Linked DNA regions of Homo sapiens: regions 2 and 3 are each linked to region 1. Evidence: promoter capture Hi-C in human tissues and cell types (Jung and others, 2019). All regions are on one chromosome and are shown on one strand. Each heading gives the region's core, a stretch centred on a gene start or on the middle of the fragment in contact. The rest is flanking DNA. Distances are from core to core; before and after follow the strand shown. Region 1 holds the start of CPA6 (carboxypeptidase A6). Region 2 overlaps CPA6 (carboxypeptidase A6). Region 3 overlaps CPA6 (carboxypeptidase A6).

Region 1 (3,542 bases), core at 654-3,153:
TGGTGCTTAGGGAAGGGTGCACACCTGCTCAGCTGAAGCAGGCCTGGTAACTTTTCACGGAGGAGTGCCACACGCTGAAATAATTATGCACAGAGCCACAGCTGAGTGGAGGAGTGAGGTCTTAGGTCATACACGTGTGTCTAAATCTGTGATCTATGTTTATCATCTGACCCGGCATCAGCCAGGAGAGTCAGAATTAAGTCCCCCACAACCCAAGCCTGCACCATCAGTCTTTAAACATGAGCTTCTTTTTTCCAGATCTCTAAAGGGGTCACAAATTATCGGAGGTAAAGTTGAGATCTTGTATGTCCAGGCCAAAAGGCAGCCCTGGGATGTTAACTCCTTTCCGTTCCTCCCAGAAATACTGGGGTGGAAAAATCCGTGATCATATTGCCATCTATAGCCCCTACCTCAGCCAACACCTCCATCTCATCCTGCCTCCCCTAAAACTGAGGACATGTTTCCAAAATTTCCTCTGTAAGCACTGTATTCAGAGGAACCCTAAAGGCAGTGCCAAGATTCTTTGGGAGAGAAAGAGAAATACAATTCTCTTTTCCAGGGTCACACTTACAAATTCTCTTTTACACTATTTCTAAAAAGAACAACTTGGTTTTAAGACACTGTACACTACCTTGTCATGATCCAGATCTACATGAAAACTTTTCTCAGGTGGTGATTATTGAATGATAGTAGCCTATTTAAAAATATGTAAGACACTGAGTTTACTCCTCTGTAAAAAGGAATTGAACTAGAGGAAGTATTTAAGGTTTTTCCAGATCTAAAGTGCAGGCAAGCCATAATTTCCAGATTCTAAGAACGACCCCCTGCATATGTGAGCAAATCACATGCTGTCTATACCACAGCAAGCCTTCAGGATAATAAGAATGTGCATAGTAACACACGGCTTCCAGCCCTCTGCCTCCTGAAGAAAGGCATATAGAAAGCATGCTTACCTACGGAGGGGGGACAAAACTGATTGTTTTACTCCTATGTTTTTCCTTCAGAAAAACTATCCATAATTTTACAGTTGACTACTTTTATTCTGCTTATTTTGAGTTGAATCATTTGCATTGCTCATATTTAAAAATCTAATAACCACTCTACAGACTAATAAGCACAGACAAAAAAAAAATCACACTCAGTTCTTAATCACTGATGAATTTCAACCCACCGCTCCTACATACAATTGTAAAGAAAGGCTTAGTTTTCAGGTCATAAATCATGTAGGACAACAGCATCCCCAAGCATCAACCAAGGCAAACACTGTAAATACTGACCATGGCTACTCCAAAGACAGAATCCCATTCAACCCTGGGTCCACAGCTAAGGTTGGCACATGATAAAAAGTATAAAAAGCCAGGTTGGAGCCCACCACATTCTCTCAGTGAGCTAAAGCCAAGAGCAGAGAGCTGTGAGTACATTTTATATAGAGGACCGTGAAAGTGTGCAGATTCACTCAGAGACCCCCAAATCAGAAAAAGTGAGGCACACTCTGGAGCAAACCAGCCCCCAGATCCAAATCAAAGCTGTGTAGGGCATGAATGTCGCTCCACTTACCCAGCATAGCGGTTGTTATAAAGGTGGCTGTGCCCCGGTTGCAGAATCTTCAAAAAGAGCCAGCAAAGAGGCAGGAAAGCAGCTGCCTGGCCCCTGCGCTTCCCGAGACACTTCATAGTGTTAAGAAGAGAGGAGTTGAAAGTTACTTAAGCAGCCACCCGAGGCTGGAGGTGGCTCACAGCACCCTCTACACACCGCACAGGTTCTCCGGGAAGGGGGTGGGCGAGGAAGGTTGAGAGTGAGCAAAATGTGACACTTCTCTCCAGCTACAAGGGAAAAAAAAAGTTCAGGCAGCTGAGGAAGGGAAGTTGCTATTACGACTTGGTCTTGGGACAAGCAGCAGCAGCAGCAGCAGCAGCTGAGCCTGATCTTTAATCAGGCTCCCCTAGAAAGGGCTGGGCCTCCCTCGTGCTGACTCACGGCAGGGGTTCACTGGGTGCTGCTTCCTTTGGGTGACTCCTCTCTGCTTTTGGTTTGTTTGCTTTCCCAACTTGAGGCCTCTAACTTTTCTGTGCAAGCTTTCTTTCTCTATCTTCTTCAGCATGAGGATCCTACCTAATTGCAAATGATTTGTCTGATGGGCTAAACAAGCAGACATGGATTATTCCAAGCTTAATGTTTTTTTGATCTCCCATGACAGATTCCTAAACGGATTCCACCTAATGAAATGCACAATGAACAATCATGATGAGAACGTGCACGGGGGTACCTATAGCACCCAGATCCGAACAGCTGGCTTCAGTTCACTGCTCCTGACTTACAGGAGTGGTCAGTGGCTTTATTGGGCTTCAGGGAGATCTTGGTACTCATTCTGCATCAGCAGCACCCAGACCTGCTGCTGTTTCAGAGGTTCTCGTGGGGAATAGGAGGCCTTCGAGTGCTTTGCCACCTTGGCTGTACATTTGGAATCATTTAGGGAGCCAGACCTTGAAAATAGAAACCGTGGTGGTGGGATCAGTGGTTTAAAAAGCTCCTTAGGTGATTCCAATATTCAACCACCATGCTGGTCTGGAGCAGGGCTTCTCAGAGCTCCACATGCATAGAAGTCACCTGGGGATCTCATTAAACTGCAGCTCTGACGTAGGTTGGAACAGGGGCCTAAGAGTTTTTATTTTTCTTTTTTGAGACAGAGTTTCGCTCTTGTTGCCCAGGCTGGATGGAGTGCCAAGTCCCCATCTCGGCTCACTGCAACCTCCGCCTCCCAGGTTCAAGCGATTCTCCTGCCTCAGCCTCCTGAGTAGCTCGGATTACAGGTGCCTACCACCACGCCCAGCTAATTTTTGTATTTTTAGTAGAGACGAGGTTTCCCCATGTCGGTCAGGCTGGTCTTGAACTCGTGACCTCAGGCAATCTGCTTGTCTCGGCCTTGCGAAGTGCTGGGATTACAGGTGTGAGCCACCACGCCTGGCCGAGTCTGCATTTCTAAAGAAGCTTCCAGGTGATGCTGGTGCCACTGGCTCTTCAGCCACACTTGGAGTAGCAAGACTTCACTTTAGAATGAGGTCTGCTTTTTCTTCCAAGCAAACCTTGGAGAAAACCATTTCCTTCTCTTTTTTCCCATGTTGATGATGAAAGCTTTTTAAAATTATTATTTGCATCCACTTGCTCCTATTCCAATACGCCACAAAACCCATTACAGGGGATGTGCCTCGCCCTATTAAATAAGCATAGGCACCTAGGGTGCCTCCTGTTACCTTTCATGCCCAGTCCTGGTTGTGCTCTAAAACAGAGAGTGAGCCACTATTTCCTCATCACACTCACAAAACTTTTCAGGCTTCCTGGAGAGTCATAGCCAAGAACTCCTGTACCCTCTAATACTATAGCCAGAGTCCCTGTTAGAAGAGAGAGCACCCAATCTTTCCCATCTTCTCTACCTGGGGAGTTGAACCAAAACTCCTTTGACAGATTCAATGTCAGGTTCATGAAACAGCTGAAATGGTTTTCATTTGAAATGATGCTCTGAATTTTTCTGCAACTTTCTCAGC
Region 2 (3,542 bases), core at 412-2,911, 120 kb before region 1:
GTTCAAGACCAGCCTGGCCAGCATAGTGAAACCCCGTCTCTACTAAGAGGCCGGAGAATTGCTTGAACCCGGGAGGTGGAGGCTGCAGTGAGCCGAGATCGCACCACTGCACCTCAGCTTGGACAACAGAGTGAGACTTTGTCTCAAATAAAATAAAATAAAATAAAACAAAATAAAATAAAATAAAATAAAAGCTCTTTCAAGTTATCTCCTTAGCCTTTACTTTCTTGGCTAATAAATTCCAATTATTCAACTCCAGTCAGCAAATCCCTGTAAACACTCCACAAGCACAATTCTACCATAAGTGTGTAGATGTTCTATTACCTTAAGTTGATAGGATATTTTCTTCAGTGCATATGCTTCCTCTTCTGTTTTGGGAATAAATCTTATCACTTTATCACTACAAGATAAGAAAAGAAAGATGATAATTACTTTTCGAAAATAAAGATATTAGTCATCTCTTTCTTACCTCTTAAAAAACTGCCTCTGCATTTAAGAAGAAAAACAGTGAAACTTTTCACTGGCCCAGTAAGTATTTTATCCAATTTATTCTCTGATTGCATTGTTCTTTTCTTCTTGTCTTAAAGCTATTTGGTGTTTCATCAGCTTTTGAAGATTACAAACTCACATTTAATGTTATAAATGCAGAAAAAGGCCAAAAACACAAAAAGAGTGGCAACGAGGGACAGGAACTTTCATGAGCTGCTCAGAGCAGATACCAAGAAGGAAAATTTCTGATGACAGAAGAAAGAAAAGTCATTCTTTTTTTAAACATAATGCTGAAAAGGAATGTGACTTTCAGTGAGAGGATGTGAAATCCACACACTAGGGAAAGCTTCTGGTTTGAATTCTTCCCACATGGAGAACAGTAAGGAGAAGCCCATCTCTATGGGGCATCTCATTTCTCTGGTACAGAGCTTCCCACCTGGCTTGTGGGGCCAAACAAGAGGGCCGTCGGCGTTAGACACTGATGGCTGTAAATTTTTTAGTGATACAAATTAAAAATCAATGTTTACAACTGTTACCAAAACACCAGGGGTTTGGTCTAGGTCCTGCTGCTTTCTGCACATAAAGCAATCACTGAGAAGATGATTATTACCAAGAAAGAAGGCTTTAATCAGGTGCTGCAGCCAGGGAGATGGGAGCTCAGTCTCAAATCCATCTCCCTGATGGACAAAAACTACAGGTGTGTATAGCAGGGAAGAAATGTAACAATGTGTACCAAGCAGAAACTAGGGAGGAGCAAGAAAGCAATCATAATGAATGAGGGGTCTTGCATCTCACTGTCAGGATGTGATCTGGTGAGTTTCTTTCAGTTCTTTGATACTTTTTGATAGGCCTGAAGGTCACTTTCTGAGGAAGGAACTCAGATAAAACAAATATAAGTTTCAATCTTTAAGACCAGAAGAATCCACCTGTGTTTATCAAAAAAAATCTCTATAGGACTACTGGGTCAGTTTCACAACCACAAAGGTTTTACCACAGTTGAAATTATATTTGAACACAATATAAGGTTCTTTCTGTAAAGGTCCTGAATTACCTAAGATGACTTAAGGTGTTGCTGTGTCTGTCAGAAAGTTTCTCTTTGGGGGCCTTGTCTCCCAGGTGTGCCAGAAAAGTAGGCTATCAATTTTTAGGTGTGTCATGATGAGGACAGGTTGGGAAGCACAGCTCTAGCACATAATAATCACAACTATTCAATGTCTTTTGCATAGAGTAGATGCTTATTAAATATTAATGGATTGGCATAAAGGAGATTGCTGAGAGTAATTGGCTTCCAGATGAAATATAAAGGAAAAACTAAGTAAATAAAGCACAGTAGGAATTAATATTTTTCATAACTCTCTATGGCATTTTACAATGATTAAAGATAAGGTAGAATATTATTAATAGAATATAAAGCAGAAAACAAAAACTCTACTATTTCACCTACAACTTGTCTCTCCAACCCCAAAGGTGCACCAGGAATAAGAATGGAATTTGCATGATTTTCTGTCATTTTACTTCTTAGATGATGATATGATTTGGATTGTGTCCCCACCCAAATCTCATGTCAAATTGGAGGAGGGGCTTGGTGGAAGGTGATTGGTTCATGGGGGCATATTTTCCCCTTGTTGTTCTCGTGATAGTGAGTGATTTCTCACAAGATCTGATGGTTTAAAAGTGTATGTCACCTCCTTCTTTGCTCCCTCTTTCTCCTGCCACCATGTGGAGGTCCCTGCTTCCCCTTCTGCTATGATTGTAAGTTTCCTGAGGCCTCCCAGGCATGCATTCTGTTAAGCCTGTGGAACTGTGAGTTGATTAAATCTATTTTCTTCATAAATTACCCAGTCTCAGGTATTTCTTTATAGTGGTGTGAGAGTGGGATAATACAGATGGATAGCAGTTTCCAAGATGAAGTAAGGCTAATATGGAGGGCATCAGATCCCTAGAGATACTTCTGGACTTGCTGGGCAATGATTTTTTAGGGCTTTTGTGTTTATTTCCAATCATGATAGTTTTATTATTTCAAATGATCCTGTAATAGCTCCTTTAGGCCTATGAATAAAAAGGCCCTTGGCTTGCTGATAATAAATTACTGTTTTATGGACTGCTACTCTAACAGAACTTTACAGCTTTGATTTCCTCAAAATCACACAAACCACCTCTCAGTATCAATGTCATGAAGTTCATATTTCTGGAAAGAATAAAAGAAAGTACCGGGAAAAAATTGTCAAGTCACTGTAAAACAAATCTAAATATAACCTTTGGAATTTAAATGTAACCACATCTCTTCTCTTTTCTGATATACATTTCTCTGACCTGTGTTTTTTCTGGATTCATCATACCCTGGCCTTTCTCATCTGACCCAATACAATTCTTGGCAGAGAAAGCAAGCTCGGCTGGGTGATATGGCTGTTTTTGATGGATGGATCACTTGACAGCTTGCTGAAAAACACCTCCATCTGGGGCCTTGTCAGCTCCTCAAGAGTGCAAGAAAAGCAATCTGTAGCTGTTTTACAGCCATGAGAATAACTTTTTTTTTTTTTTTTAAAGATGGATAATTCAACCTGGCAATCAGTTCCTCTTCTGCAAATAAGTACAGGATACAAAGAAACTACCCTTGGGATTATTTAACCCTGAAAGTGATTGCTCAAATCCAGTTTTCTCATTTTTGTTACAAAAAGTTCATTTCATCCCAGCCTTTAGAAATTCTCAGGTGTGACTTTAGAAATGAATTTATTGCTGTTTGATAACTTATCAAAGGACAGAGAATAAGGAAGGCAATGTAGAAAGACCCATGAAATGTCATACTCTTTTGTGAACCAGTAAATTATATTGATGGAATGACGGGTAACCAAAGCCCAACAAGAGCTCTTTATTCAGCATGTGAAAACCACATGACCCCCAAATGCCCTGTTTGTTTCACCAAACAAAAAGCTTACTCTCCCTAAATCTGATAGCTAGTGTTTTTTGAAGTGGTGAGTAATTTGGTGCTAGAAACAGGGAAGTTTCAGGTAGTCTACTGGAACTTAGAAAAACTAACCATGCAAAACTATCAG
Region 3 (3,542 bases), core at 267-2,766, 73 kb before region 1:
TAAGAATCAGGCTGAGATACCTAAGCTATAAAAATACATGAAACAAGATAAAATACTGCTTCTATATGATTCTGGCCTTATACTGTCTATACCTGTGTGCCCAGCTCTGCTACTTGACTAAAGGGCTTGCTTTCCTCGAATCTGAAACACACTAATGCATAGTTTGCTTCAGAAGCAGAAGGCTTCTGAAAAATGCTTTTATTTCCCTATTGCTAAGAAAACATTTGACATTAGAACTCCTTTGTGCAGGCTAGGATGTTTCCTAAGTTTTCTTTTGCAGTGATCTGCAAACACTTTTGCTTATGTACTCCCAAAATAACTTTGGAGAACCAGCATTATTTTATTTTTTAAATTAAATTTTATTGTATTTTATGTTTTTTAGAAGGGATTTCACTCTATTGTGCAGGCTGGAGTGCAGTGGTGCAATCTTGGCTCACTGCAACCTCTGTCTCCCAGGTTCAACAATTCTCCTGCCTCAGCCTCCTGAGTAGCTGGAATTACAGGTGCGCACCACCACAGCCAGCTAATTTTTGTATTTTTAGTAGAGACAGGGTTTCACCATATTGGCCAGGCTGGTCTTGAACTCCTGACCTCATGTGATCCACCTGTCTCAGCCTCCCAAAGTGCTGGGATTACAGGTGTGAGCCACCGCACCCGGCCTTCTCATGCATTTTTAAGTTGGCTCTAATATTTTTCATTATCAGTTTAATGGCATGAACAAAGTATTTCAGTATATTGTAAATATTAACATTTAAAAATACATCACAATTTTCAATGTATCCAAAGGAGTCTAAATATAACTGGAACATTTTATATCATAGTTTTGTCTTTGAACTCATTTTCATTCCACTCCGTGTGTAAAATTTTCTTCCAATGCGTACAAACTTTTAGATAGATTGCCATTATATTCCTGTGCAACCCAAGTCAGTTCCTCTTCCCATTTTTTCCCCTTGTTTCACTAAAAGGCACCACTATCTATCCCACTCCTCAAGCCAGTAACCTACAAGTCCTCCTGTCCTTCTCCTCATCACTCAGCCAATCCATCATCGAGTCCTTTTACTCCACCCTCCCATGTCAAGTCAAATCCAACCATGTCTCTCCAGCACCCTAGGGTCTTCCAGAATACTTGGGAGGAGGTTTCTCATAGAGCTCGGGCCCAATATGAACACACAGGGACAAAAACCCGGAACAATTTATATTTCATTTTGAAAACAGTATAATTGAAATGCCATTAACCTAGGCATCAAACCGGTCTAAAGTCCTGCTTGGAACACAATCAAGATGTTTTATTCTAAGTCCCACAAAATGATGTTTTGCTTTTAAAATGGATGAAATGCCAAATCAGAGTCTTCCTTGAACAAATAAGCCCTAACTGCCTCATTAGCTTTAAGCTTCTAGGATGATGCAGGCATTACAGAGGAAGGTATTATTTCACTAACTTTTTTTTTAAATCAGTTTTTTATGTAGCCAAGTGAGTTTCAAAACTTACGGATGATAGAAACTTGGGGGCAATAGCAAATTCTACTGTAAGAAACAATGCAACTACGTATGATTTGAAAGGACTGGTACACTGGGCAGCTAATCAAATGTAGCCCAGAGAGAAATATACAAAGATGAACTGTGGAAAAGAACAAAGGAGACAAAACCTCCTTGCTCAATGAAAGAGACAGAGATCCCACGCTAGGTCTAAATTCTTTGGATCTTGTTTTTCTTACATTCACCTCTCTTCTCTGACTGTATTTGGCGGCATTCATTCAAACTACATCCTGAAGGGGCAAAATAGGGATATTCACATTGGATACTATGATATACAATGATTTTAAATTTGGATTTGGATTTCAATGTTCAGTGTTGCATGATTTTTATTTTATAATCTCTTTCAATTTATTATTATTATTATTATTATTATTATTTATTTATTTTTTTTTTTTTGAGACTGAATCTCGCTCTGTCACCCAGGCTGGAGTGCAGTGGCGCGATCTGGGCTCATTGCAAGCTCCGCCTCCCGGGTTCATGCCGTTCTCCTGCCTCAGCCTCCTGAGTAGCTGGGACTACAGGTGCCCGCCACCACTCACGGCTAATTTTTTTTTTTTTTTGTATTTTTAGTAGAGACGGGGTTTCACCGTGTTAGCCAGGATGGTCTCAATCTCCTGACCTCATGATCCACCCACCTCGGCCTCCCAAAGTGCTGGGATTACAGGTGTGAGCCACTGCGCCTGGCCTTGTTTTATTATTTTTATCCACAGACTATAATAGCATTTTAGTACTCAAAAGAGTGTGATAGACTTAATTCTATAAAATTCATTTAACAAATATTTTTTAAATGCCTGCTGTGCGCCAGACACTACTGAAAGCATCAGGAGCCTGGTGTTGAACAAAGACACAAACAAATGGCTTCTCCTTCAAGAAGCCTTTAATACAATTGTTATATATAGAACATTCTAGAAAGAGTTGCTTTATGAGGTAAAGGTGAATGAAGGGAGGCTGTTTGAGTTGATGACAATCATAGCTACCATTTATTGAACATTTACTATATGCCATATTCTGTGTCATTTTATATGTACCGTGTTACCATCATAGAACAATCCTATGATGCTGGAACTATTCTCTCCATTCTACAGTTGTGAAATAGCTGGAATTATTCTCTCCATTCTACAGTTGTCATGACATGACAGAGAGGGTAAGCCTAACGTCATATAGCTAGTGAGTGGCAGAGCCAGGATTTGAACTGAAGTCTGATTTCAGGGCTCAGGCTTAGGAGTCAGGCTGTACTGCAGAGACTACCTGAGCATTTGTGAGGAATGATGTAGATAAAATGCCTGCCTTGGGTGCAAAGTTATGTTACGACTCCAAGATTGCTTTAATGCTAAAGCCCCTTAGCTGTAACAAGGCAAGCTGGTTATTTGTCAAAGGACCACAACTGAAAAACTACTCTTGTCCAGCTTCATATCCATAGCAGGAATATGACTACCTAAAGTCTTCTGAATAGGAATAGAAACTGTATGACTGATTCTTTTTGTGGATTTACTGAAAAATTAAATTTCCCAAACAACAGATGCTGGCGAGGCTGTAGAGAAAAGGGAACATTTATACACTGTTGGTGGGAATGTAAGTTAGTAAAGTCACTGTGGAAAGCAGCTTGGAGATTTCTGGAAGAACTCAAAACAGAGCTATCCTTCGACCCAGAAATTTCATTACTGGGCATATACCTAAAGGAAAATAGATCATTATGCCAAAAAGACACATGCACTCATATGTTTGTCGCAATGCAATTTACAATGGCAAAGACATGGAATCAAGCTAGGTGTCCATCAATGATGGATTAGATAAAGAAAATGTGGTACATATACACCACGGAATACTACACAGCCATGAAAAAAACCAAAAGCATGTCTTTTGCAGCAACATGGATGGAGCTGGAGGCCATAATTCTAAGTGAATTTACACCAGAACAGAAAACCAAATACCACGTGTTCTCACTTATAAGTAGGAGCTAAACACTGGGTACACATGAATATAAACATGGGAAGAACAGACACTGC

The links. The method cuts DNA at HindIII sites, captures the fragments that hold promoters and counts their contacts. A contact is called where the count stands out against the background at its distance.
Region 2: a fragment that was not itself captured here is called in contact with the fragment with the promoter of CPA6 in region 1 in 3 of the 25 tissues and cell types used here (H1 embryonic stem cells, hippocampus and spleen).
Region 3: a contact is called between a fragment that was not itself captured here and the fragment with the promoter of CPA6 in region 1, in 4 of the 25 tissues and cell types used here (H1 embryonic stem cells, adrenal gland, bladder and 1 more).

The regions. Positions count from the first base shown.
Region 1 is chr8:67,744,457-67,747,998 of GRCh38, forward strand. CPA6 (carboxypeptidase A6) reads right to left here and starts at 1,904. Exons shown (of 11, transcript NM_020361.5): 1 at 1,558-1,904. The coding sequence starts at 1,673. RefSeq lists an enhancer at 1,730-2,230. The HindIII fragment of the contact is 6,623 bases long and covers 1-2,578 here.
Region 2 is chr8:67,623,852-67,627,393 of GRCh38, forward strand. It overlaps CPA6 (carboxypeptidase A6), which reads right to left. Exons shown (of 11, transcript NM_020361.5): 2 at 325-400. Among named protein-coding and RNA genes, the nearest start is that of CPA6, 120 kb to the right of the region's middle. The HindIII fragment of the contact is 4,611 bases long and covers 1-3,542 here.
Region 3 is chr8:67,671,470-67,675,011 of GRCh38, forward strand. All of the region lies in intron 1 of CPA6 (carboxypeptidase A6), which reads right to left. Among named protein-coding and RNA genes, the nearest start is that of CPA6, 73 kb to the right of the region's middle. The HindIII fragment of the contact is 4,764 bases long and covers 1-3,542 here.